Regions from separate parts of the Homo sapiens genome. Here region 1 is linked to region 2. The links are contacts of gene promoters, found by promoter capture Hi-C in blood cells and fetal thymus (Javierre and others, 2016). All regions are on one chromosome and are shown on one strand. Each heading gives the region's core, a stretch centred on a gene start or on the middle of the fragment in contact. The rest is flanking DNA. Distances are from core to core; before and after follow the strand shown.

The links. The method cuts DNA at HindIII sites, captures the fragments that hold promoters and counts their contacts. A CHiCAGO score of 5 or more calls a contact.
Region 1: a contact is called between a fragment that was not itself captured here and the fragment with the promoter of MALRD1-AS1 in region 2, in 1 of 17 cell types (megakaryocytes). The highest score is 6.7, in megakaryocytes.

What each region holds. Positions count from the first base shown.
Region 1 is chr10:19,779,618-19,785,817 of GRCh38, forward strand. No RefSeq gene overlaps it. Among named protein-coding and RNA genes, the nearest start is that of PLXDC2, 34 kb to the right of the region's middle. The HindIII fragment of the contact is 1,544 bases long and covers 1,579-3,122 here.
Region 2 is chr10:19,724,408-19,730,648 of GRCh38, forward strand. MALRD1-AS1 (MALRD1 antisense RNA 1) reads right to left here and starts at 4,143. Exons shown (of 5, transcript NR_120646.1): 1 at 3,998-4,143. All of the region lies in intron 38 of MALRD1 (MAM and LDL receptor class A domain containing 1), which reads left to right. RefSeq lists a silencer at 20-220. The HindIII fragment of the contact is 5,040 bases long and covers 1-4,715 here.

The DNA.
Region 1 (6,200 bases), core at 1,101-3,600, 53 kb after region 2:
AATTTAAAAATGAAAAATTTTAAAAAGAAAAAAAAAGCTTGTAGAATAAGGATATAATAAAAGAAAACATTTTTGGACAGTCGTACAATGTATTTGTGTTTTAAAGCTAAGTGTTATTGCAAAGGAGACAAAAATTTAGAAATCAAACATTTATATAGTAAATCATTACAGTGAGCTAAGGTTAATTTATTAATGAGGAAAGAAAAATATTTTTGAATAACGTAGTCTGGGTATACAGTGTTTATAAGGGCTACAGTAGTGTACATTAATGTCTTAGGCCATTGCTCACCACCCACTCATGGACTCACCCAGTGCAACTTCCAATTCCGCAACCTCCTTTCATGGTCACTGCCCTATATAGGTGTACTATTTCTTATATACTATACTTTTACTGTACCTTTCCTATGTTCAGACACATGAATACTTTCATTGTGTTACAATTGCGTATAGCATTCGGTCCAATAACATGCTGTGCGATATTGTAGCCTAGGAGCAACAGACTATTCATTCCATATAACCTGGATGTGTAGGAGGCTCTACCATCTAGGTTTGTGTAAGTACACCCAAGGATGTTTGTCAACAACGAAATCACCTATCGATGCATATCTCAGAATGTATTCCCATCAAGAAGTGACATATGACTCTGTTATTCCCATTTCTCAGTTAATGACTTTGAGGCCCTCAGTAGTTGAGCAATTTACCCAAATTCACAGCTTAAAAGTGGTGAAGGCAGCATTCAAACTCTATCTGCCTCTAGAATTTGTATTCTGAACTATGAGTTCCAGTGGCCTCTCATAATGTACATTCCATAGTAATAATAACAAACAATCAATGACACTATAGATACCCATTGGTAAGTCCCATGCTTTGAGTAGTTTTTCAATGAGTTGAATGGGTTGCACTGAATTAAATTATTTGCTCTCTCCCCTGGTTCCTCTAAATAGGAGCACCCTTGCGGGGCTGGCTAAATGGAACTGGAAATGTAATCTGTAGTTAGGAAACATTAGGGGGTTCTTGTTTGTTGTTAAATCTAAGATAACTATTTATTAATAGCCTTTTGGGGATGTTTGAATGTTTATAAAGTATTATTACAATCAGAGTCCACTTCAAAGTATAATCGAGAGTTCAAATGATTTCCTTCTTCCTTAACCTTATAATACAAAAGGGAATTCACTCCATTTCTGCAAGTAGAAAATCTGAAATTTAGTTATAGGAAAGAAGAACATGAAAGTGCAAATGTGTTTTTTTTTTTTTCCTTTCCCTTTGAAATCCATCACCTTCCTTTACCATGGAGACAAAAGATTATTATAATTTTTTTCTAAGATTATTAGAATTTATTTCATGTGCAATACTTCCTGGCTTTAATATCTCATAAATTTGAAATGTTCTGAATTTCTATGGCTTAGTTGTTCTTCAGGAAGTATTTATCTTTCTGTTTGTTTGTTTTTCTTAGCACATTTAGAAAAAGAAAATATTTGTACTCTCATTTGTCATGTAACAGTTCCCAAGCATTCCAATTTATTCTTCAGAATCTATTAGTGTGGAGTTGAAAGCCTTATCATTTTAGGGACATTTTTAAGCTTTCCTATTTTTCTCTCCTGGCACTTTCTAAAACTTCTAGAGTTAACTTTAACATTGCATTTCTGAAATTTAATGAAAACCATTTTGTCTTGGATATTACCACAAGAAACACATTTAGTGACCAATGTACATGTTTTCACCCCCACTACCTCATTAATCTAGAATAATCAGGGAAGAAATAATCTGAATAAGAAATTTTCCAGAAATTAGGAATTTGCAAATTTAAATATTCAAAATGTGGAAAATATATATGGTTGACAAATATTTTCTTGCTTTAAAAAGAATATGTGAAGCACAACCTAACCACGTTTGTTATTTTTGTTTCAGTAGGAGTATAAATTATTATGGAGTACTGCAATAATACAACAGCTATTTTCTCACTGGTAAAACTCCTTCTCACCTTAAATTCAACAAGTTTATTCAACACATGTCTTTAATGAATGCCTATTATATTTGACACTCTGCCAAGTGAATGACGACTTATGAAAACAGCACTCATATAAAAACATGGACCATCACCAGTACCCCTAAAACCTCCCCCAATGGCTTCTCCCAATCATCAACCCCACCGCCTTCCCATTGCTATCTACTCTTTGACTTCCTACATCATATGTTAGTTACTGTCCTTTGTAAATGAAATAATATGTATTCTTTTGTATCTTGCTTTTTGTTTAACATTATATTTGTGAAATTCATTCATCTTGTGGCATTTTGCAGCAGTTTTCATTGTGAATGAATATGCCAAAAATTACTTATCCATTCTATTTGTTCATGGGCATTTTGGCCTGTTTCTAATTTGAAGTTATAGAAAGAGTGCTGTTTTAAATATTCTTGGACTTGCCTTGTGGTAAACATATGTATGCATTTTTTGCTAGATATTTATCTAAGAAAAGAAGTGCTACGTTTTCAGATGAACGTATGCTTAGCTTTAATACAAAAGGGTCACATCATGTAGTCTCAAACACCTTTATAGAAATCTCACATGATACTTCTGAGTATGTGTATCTCATTGTCCATAACCCAGCTGAAGGCCACATACCTAGCTTCAAGAAAGGGAAGGCAGCAATGGATTTTGGCTGGATCCATTCCCATCCTTAATAAAATCTGAATTCTGACACCAAGAAAGAAAGGGAGTATTGGTAATGCATGAAAAGCACAGGTCTCTGCCACACTAACTCTCCGTCAGCCCTTGCCATCTCAGGAAACAGAACTCTTGTCCACTTTGTGTTCCAGTAAAATATCCCAGGATCATTCTTCTCTCCTCCTACCCCCTTCCAGTCTATCAGCAAGTCTTCTTAGTTCTATTTCCCAAATACATCTTGACTGTATCATCTTCTCTCCTCCTCTGCTATCCCCTTAACATAAGCCACATCATCTCTTAGATAGACGCACTATTGCAGCTGCTTCCTGTTGGAGCTCTTTTGATCCAGTTTTGCTCCCCCACCATCCTTATAGCAATCAGTGTGGTTTGGTTTGGTTTTGCCTTCCTGTTTGGGGGGTTTATTTCCTTCCAATAACGCGACATTAGTTCCCTATCTAAAAGCTTTCAATGGCTTCCTTTTGTACTTAACAGTAAAAATTCAACTTCCTAACACTGGCCCTCGTGAACATCTACATGTTCATTCCATTCTCATCCTCTGCTTCAGCTACAAAAGCTTCACATACATCAAATTCTTTCCCACTTCGTGATCTTTGCCCCAGAACATACTGCTTCCAAGTTTTATGGTTTTGTTTGCTCATTTTGTTTGCAGTTTGTCTCCCACCATGGGAACGTAGGCATTGTGAATGTAGGGCTTGTCTGAGCTCTGTACCCAAAGGGACCAGCCTAAACCCTTGTGGTGGTGAACAATGTTGAATGAACAAATGCATCTCTTATTTGTGAACCTATGAACAATTTTGATTTCTTATTATGGCTTATACTCTATTCTAAATATTCTCAATATTCTTTAGCAAACATGGATTGCTCTTGAATGTTAAAAAGGTTTAATTTAGTGACTACGTTAAATAATTTGCCGTGTATAATTTTTAAGTCTGAAGTTAATTAATTAGTAATGTCAACTAATATTTTGCAGCAGCACCTAGAATACTTAATATATAGTGTAGGAACATCAGGTAACAAACAAATCAACCCACATTATAACTTCGAGGAACTTGTGATTCTGAAATGAGAGCTAAGAAATAAACATAGCTATCTATATTCTAATCCAGACTTTTTAAGTTCTAGAAAAGGTACATAAGTTAAACGTGAGTGATTACTATATAATTTTTTCTCATTAAATGTTGTTATAATGGGTCTCAAAATTCTGTGGCAGATTTTTGATCAAGTTGTTTCCATTAAAAATTACTCACTTTAAAAGCTAATAACTTAAAACTGCCCCATGCAGAAAAGGCCAAAATAGTCCACAAAACATTCTTCTTTTCTTCTAAAGGTTTTATGGTGCGTTGTTATCATTACCCAGTTTTTTACTATTAAACTTAAATGGCCAATTGAAACAAAGAGTTCTGAGACTATTCTTGTACCACTTATTAAGACTGTGATGGCAGGTGTTACGGATAATTTCATTTAGCCACACAATATGGTTTGGATTTGTGTCCCTGCCCAAATCTCCTGTGGAATTGGAGGAGGGGCCTGGTGGGAGGTGACTGGATCATGGAGGTGGATTTCCTCCTTGCCGTTCTTGTGCTAGTGAGCGTCCCTTGTGCAGCTGTTATGTAAAGTAACATAACAATTCCATTCAGGTATTGGAATGTTAATACCATTCAGGTATTCAAGGCGATACCATTCAGTACATAGGAATAAGCAAAGATTTCCTGATGAAGATGCCAAAAATTATCTCAGCAAAAGCAAAAATTCAAATTGTTGCTTGATCTTACAGCAAATATTTCTCCATCTTATTTCATGTTTTGTCATTATTTACCCTAAAAGCAAATCTAACATAAAAATAAGAAAAGAATTAAAAAAAAAAACATAAAAACAAATAACAAAGAAAAACACCACTCTCTGAAGCAAGTTCCCAAGTATGCCTGCAATTGCTGTCTAGATACTAGGAAGGTATTTTCCAGCACTTGGTCTGACTCCGCAATGCTGTTCAGCTTACTTCAGGGAAAATGAGCAGCTTATTTGATATATGCTGGATTAATCTGCCTTTTCTACAGGATAACATCCTCAGGGAAAGGCACCATTCAGAAATCAAAGCTGAAAAACTTTAAGACTTCCAAAGAACACTAGAGATACGGTATAACTGAAGTTAAAAAGAAACATTTAATAGCCTTAGTTTATCTTAAAAAATAAATGCCTCATGACATTGAAAGATGTTTAGTAAGCTGTTTATTGAAAAGAACCAAGATAAATATTATGTATAGTGTGACAAAGTCTATAAATGTTATGGTGCTATTTAAAATTACTTTGATAGGCATCCAAATGGGAAAAGAGGAAGACAAACTATCTGTGTTTGCAGAGGACCTAATTCTATATCTGGAAAACCCCATAGTATCTGTCTAAAAGCTCCTTTAGCTGATAAACAACTTCAGCAAAGTTTCAGAATACAAAATCAATGTACAAAAATCAATAAAATTCCAATACACCAACATCCAAGCCCAGAGGCAAATCAGGAATGAAATCTCATTCACAGTTGCTACAAAAAGAATAAAATACCTAGGAATACAGCTAACCAGGGAAGTGAAACATCCCTAAAATGAAAAATATACAACACTGCTCAAAGAAAACAGAGATGACACAAACAAATGCTCATGGGTAGGAAGAATCAATAATGTTAAAAATGGCCATATTGTCCAAGGGAATGAAGAGATTCAATGCTACTCCCATCAGACTACCAATGGCATTTCTTCTCAAAACAAGAAAAAACTATTTAAAAATTCATATGAAACCAAAAATTCATATGAAAAAACTATTTAAAAATTCATATGAGCCTGAATAGCCAAGACAATACTAAGCAAAATGAACAAAGCTGGAGGCATTACATTACCTGACTTCAAACTGTACTACAGGGCTACAGTAACCAAAACATCATGGTACTGGGAGAAAAACAGACACATTGACCAATGGAACAGAAGAGATGGCCCAGAAATAAAACTGCACACCTATGACCATCTGATCTTTGACAAAACTGACAAAAACAAGCAATGGGAAAATGAATTCCTATTTAACAAATGGTGCTGGGGATAATTGGCTAGCCAGATGCAGAAGACTGAAACTGGACCCCTTTATTATACCATATACAAAAGTCAACTCAAGATAGATTAAAGACTTAAGTGTGAAACCCAAAACTATAAAAACCCCTTGTAAATAGCCTAGGCAATACCATTCAGGATGTAGGAATGAGCAAAGATTTCCTGACGAAGATGCCAAAAACGATTGCAACAAAAGCAAAAAATGACTAATGGAATCTAATTAAACCAAAGAGCTTCCACACAGCAAAAGAAACTACCAACAGAGTAAACAGGAAGCCTACAGAATGGTAAACAAATTTTTGCAAACTGTGCTTCTGACAAAGGTCTAATATCCCGAATCTACAAGGAACTTACACAAATTTACAAGCAAAAGCAACCCCATTAAAATGTGGGCAAAGAACATGAACAGACACTTCTCAAAAGAAGAC
Region 2 (6,241 bases), core at 2,893-5,392:
GTGTGTAAAAAGATGTTCATTTTGAAGGACAGGCCTCTCAGCAGGAACATTGTGCTGTCACTCTGTCCTAGACACTTCAGCATTCGGAGTGACAGCTAGTCTCACTGTCACCTTTGTTTCCTTTCAACCCAGATAAAGGTTTATTCACTTATCTAGTCCAAAGATGTTCACTTTAAGTGGCAATGAGACTACACCCTGAAACTGTCCAACATTGCCATCATAATTTTCCTATACACTAGCTTTAAATTGTTTACATTAAGGAAGTTTTATAGCCCCACTAAGCTAGGGATAAATGTAGTTATCAAAAATAAACTTTTGCCAGAGGAAATGGGAAAAAAGGAAGTAAAACGCATTCAAATTGGAAAAGAAGACATAAACTTCAGTATTCATAAATGGCATGATACTATATATAAGCAATCTCAAAGAATCCACAAGAAAGCTACTAGAGCAAATAAACAAATTCAGAGAAGTTACAAGGTATAAGAGCAACACTTAAAAATCAGTTGTATTACTACATACCAGCAATGAACAATCAGAAAAGGAATCTTGAAGGCAATTCTGTTGACAATAGCATCTAAAAGAATAAAATACCTGGGAATAAATTTAACCAATGAGGTGAAAGATTTATACACTTAAAATCACAAAGCATTATTGAAAGAAATTAAATAAGACCTAACTAAATGGAATGACACACTAAGTTCATGGAAAGGAGGACAATATTGTCGAGACGTTAATACTAACTAAAGCAACTCATATGGTTTGGCTCCATGTCCCCACCCAAATCTCATCTTGAATTCTAGTTTCCATAATCCCCACAAGCCGTGGGAGGGACCTAGTGGGAGGTAATCTAAGCATGGGGGTGGTTACCCTCATGCTGCTATTCTCAGGATAGTGAGTAAGTTCTCACAAGGTCTGATGGCTTTAGACGGGGCTTTTCCGGCTTTTGCTCTGCACTTCTGGCTGCCACTGTGTGAAGAAGGGCATATTTGCTTCCCCTTCTGCCATGATTGTAAGTTACCTGAGGCCTCCCCAGGCCTGTGGAACTGTGAGTCAATTAAACCTCTTTCCTTTATAAATTACCCAGGCTCAGGTATTTCTTCACAGCAGCATGAGAACAGACTAATACAGCAACCTGCAGATTCAAGGCAATCTCTATCGAAAATTCCAACAGCCATTTTTGCAAAAGTGAAAAACCTCTTCTCAAATTTATAAATTGCAAGGGTACCAAATAGCCAAAACAATGTTGGAGAACTCAAACTTCCAAATTTCAGAATTTACTACAAAAGTACAGTAAACAAAACAGTGTGGTATCGGCATGAGGCATGAGAACAGACATATAGATCAATTGAATTGAACTGAATTGAAAATTCAAATATAATCCTATACATCTGTCATGAATTGATGCTTGACAACAATGCCAAGTCCATCCAATGGGGATCAAATAGTCTCTTCAGTAGATGATATTGGGACAACTGGATTTTGCAATGCAAAAGAATGCAGATGGACCCCCTACTTCACACCACATACAGAAATTAGCTCAAAATGGATCAAGGAGCTACATGTAAGAGCAAAAGCCATAATGCATTTAAAAGAAAACATAGTGGTAAATCTTCATGATCTTGGATTTGGAAATTGATTCTTTCTTAAATATGACACCAAAAGCACAAGCAACAACAAAAAATAAATAAGTAAATTGGACTTTATCAAAATCAAAAACTTTTGTGCAACAAAAGACATTATCAAGAAAGTGAAAAGACAATCTACAAAATGGTAGAAAATATTCAAAAGTACGTATCTGATAAAAGTTTAATATCCAGAATATATAAAAATCCATACAACTTAAGAACAAAAAGACAACCCAATTTCAAAATGGGCAAAGGACTAGAATAGTCATTTCTTCAAAGAAGATTACATATAGTTGAACATAAAAAGATGTTCAACATCACTAGTCATTAGGGAAATGAAAATCAGTACCACAATTACATACCAATTCACATCCACTGAGATAGCAATAATAATAATAATTTAAAAACTGAAAATAACAAGTGTTGATGAGGATGAGGAGAAATAGAAACCCTCACACATTGTTGGTGGGAATGTAAGATGGTGCAGCACTATCAAAAACAGTTTGGCAGTTCCTCAAAAGTTAAAAAAGAGTTACCGTGTGTTCTATCAATTCAACTCCTAGTTATATACCTCGAAGAATCAAAATAGAGACTTAAACAGATATTCATGCAGCAATGTTCCCCATAGCAGTATTCACAATAGTGAAAAGATGGAAACTACCCAAATTTCCATCAACAGGTGAATGAATAAACAAAATGTGACATATACATGCAAGGGAATATTATTCAGCAATAAAAATGATTAAACTTCTGATACATACTACAATATGGATGAATCTTGAAAACATTATGCTAAGTGAAATAAGCCAAACACAAAAGGACAAATACTGTATGATTCCACTTAGGTGAGGTACCTCGAGTCTCATAAAGACAGAAGGTAAATCAGAATTTACCTGGGATTGGTTGGAGGGGAATGGGGTGTTAATGCTCACTGGCCATGGAGCTTCAGTTCAGAGTTATAAAAACATTTTGGAAATAGTGGTAATGGTAGCACAACACTGTGAGTGGAATTAATGGCATTGAATTGTATACTTGAAATGGTTAAAATGGCAAATTTTATGTGATATATACCACTGTTTTAAAAATTAAAAATTAATAAAAGTAACATTACTGAAAACCATTGAATTGTGTACTTTAAGTTTGTGAATTGTATGGCATGTGATTTATAGCTCCATAAAGCTGTTAAAAATAAAAATACAAAATATTCACCTCGAAGTCATGTTTACTGGATGTAACATAGATTGGTTTTTGTTTTATTCTTTTTTTCTCCTTTCCCATTTGTAATAGTTTCAGACTATTATAAACACTTCCATGCTTTTATCAACACTAAAACAATGTTGTCAGTTAATAAGTGAATTCCATTAGAAGTATAAATATGCTCGCTAAATTAAAATTGGAAACTGCCATCAGAATTATCTTAGTTCTGCATTGATCTAGGTCTCTTGTCACACATTCAGAATGCCACTTCGCACAGTATCTGCACGTAATGGATATAAGATAAACTTAATAATAATTTATATGAATGCATGATAAGGGAGAAAAACTTATATGATCCATGCAACTTCCTTTCCTCTACTCAAAATTTCTAAGTCAGTTCCTTTATCATCATTATTCCTAGAGGTGGTTATATTCTTTAGAACCTCAATTCTTACAACTCACTTATTCATTGGGGGAAAAAAAATCAACTGCTTAAGAGCTACCGGCATATTGACAAATACAGTAAGTCAAACATTGCATTTTTTTTTTTTTGGCCTGATGAAGACTCATCATTACACCATTGAGTTTCAGAACTGGCAGGAAACTTTATAATGAAACAAACATTTTATTTCCCTCATGTAAGGATCCACCATTTTAAGTAAAATTGCCTGTGTTTGAATGTCAAATTGACATAGTTGATGAAAATGGAAAATCATAATATTGAACTTGAAATACTAAATGTATAGAGTGACACTAGCAATTTCCTTCATGGAAGAATCTGTGGACGGTGTAATAGTTTACCTTATAAATAAATAGGAAAGACATTAAAATTTAAGTCTAATAGTCCAGGGATTTTCAAGAATGGGAGATATATCTTTAATCTAGGAAAAATAAAAGCAATTTGAGACTACTAAAAAACAAAAGTTGAAGTAGGAAGGATTTGCCATTCCTCACCTTCCAATACTCACACTGAAACCCTTTCTTCTTTTATTACAACTCCACATCCTTACTCTTAAATATCATCTTCCTTCTTTGTAGTTACCCAAATCTTGAAGGCCAGACACCTTCAAATGTTTTTTCATTTTAATAGAAAATTATTTCAGACTTAAAACCCTTTCAGAAGACAAGTAGCTTCAATAATTGAATTAACAGAGCTGAGAATTATATAAATTTACCTGGCTTCTGCCTGCTGACCGTGGTCTGGGTCATCTGGAGTCCCAGCAGTTTAAGACCAAAAATAATTGCTTCATATCAAGATCTTTTGTGTTGCTTCTGCCTCACACCCTTGCAACTGACGGCCAAGCTGGTCCCTTCAGCTCCTGGTTGTATGCTCAGGCTTTGACCATCTGTCCTGTCTAGCCCTGTGGTTTGGGTTTCCTCCTGCTTCCTGATTTCATGCCTGATTTCAGCCTCTTAATTTTTCTGAGCTCTTGGTGTCAGTGTCTGTCTTATCTTTACTTAGTTCCTAATTTCTATTATGTTTTGATCATCCCTACTTCCATGTCCAATTTTTCCTGCTTTGGTATTTTGATGCATTTCAAAACTACACTTCACTCCCTACCCAATCTCAACTCCAAGATCATCCCTGGCTCAGTTCATGCACTAACCATGCTATGTACTGAGATTACTACTCCGAGAATTTAACATAGACTAGTCTTGAATAAAGTAAAGGCAAAGAGTCAAACACAACTTACTCAAATTAATCAGAGCAACTAATAAGCATTCAATTAGTGCTTAAGGAATTAACAGATATTTGTTGACTCAATTCAGACTTTTTTCAATAATAACCCACAAAATAGATGCATATGGCCCTATTCATCAATAAGCAAAATGTACCCGCGGTGAGGGTGAAACATTTAATCTATTGTATATTTAAGCCAGTGGAGATCAGGAAGCTTAAAAGACACTGAATCCACAGGGACAATGTATTGCCAGCCAAACATAATTAGCTAGATTAGACTGTTAGGCTCACTGATGCTGCAGTTTCTTTGAAAAGGACCATGTGGTTTGGTAGATGACAATAGGCAGTTATGCCTATGGCAATTTGTTTTCAGAAATCAAATCAGTAAGAGCCCCCTTCTTGCTACATTTTATTTTGGGATTTAGAATTATATTACTGACAAACATTAATTTTCACTGTATCCTGAATAGGCAAAAAATATACATTATACATACATTATACATTGTGTTATACAATTATCATACATTATATATTTGTTACTCGTGTCATTAAGCTCTTAAAACAATCATCCTGGAATTGGTCTTCCATTCTCCATTGTGTGTGTGTGTGTGTGTACACATGCATGTATAGGATCCTTTCTTATGTGTGTGTGTGTGTACACATGTGTGTATAGGATCCTTTCGTGTGTGTGTGTGTGTGTGTGTATTTAGTTCTTGGTTACTTTTTTTTGTTCCTACGATGGACATTTTTTCTTCATCAGTTGTCACCAAGTAGTCCAGGGCTGCGTGTCTTCTAATAAGTCTATTAATTCTTTTTTTTTTTTTTTTTTTTTTTTTTTTTTTTTGAGACGGAGTCTCGCTCTGTGGCCCAGGCTGGAGTGCAGTGGCGCGATCTCGGCTCACTGCAAGCTCCGCCTCCCGGGTTCACGCCATTCTCCTGCCTCAGCCTCCCAAGTAGCTGGGACTACAGGCGCCCGCCACCACGCCCGGCTAATTTTTTTGTATTTTCAGTAGAGACGGGGTTTCACCGTGTTAGCCAGGATGGTCTCGATCTCCTGACCTCGTGATCCGCCCGCCTCGGCCTCCCGAAGTGCTGGGATTACAGGCGTGAGCCACCACGCCCGGCCTATAAGTCTATTAATTCTTAAGTAAAGTATAAAAGGAAAATAATCATATGGAGCCCAGTTAATTATAGTGAATTATGCACATGTAGTCCAATATGTGATATTACCAAGGGCTTGCTGTTTTTGAGTTTCATGAAACACTACCCTAAAGAACTTTTCAAAACAGTTGTATTTAAATTTGCTGATTAAAATGTTAAAGACTATGACTCATGTGCTACAGATCTTTATGACAGATACTGTCATGGAAAACAGTCTTCAGGATGTAGTGGTTTGGCACTGTGCAGTGTAAAGGACTTCAAGATGGCCTTTCTTTATCACTAGTACAGCTTCATATTACATTGTTCTTTCTAATGTTGGACACTTTGCACTGAGTAATATTTTAAGAAATCAACATTAAGACTAACTTTTGCAATTTCTTTTATTTGCCTGAGTTTATTTGGATCTAAACACTCAGAGTTCAAATTACATTTGCTTTCCTGAATGTGGTTGCCTTGGTGTCCTGCAAAAAATAAAAAATAAAAAACAAACTTTACTTATGGTAATACATTCATGAAAATAAGTGTGCTGGCTAGACAACATGTCTCTCAAAAGTTTCTAACAAACAATAACCTGAAA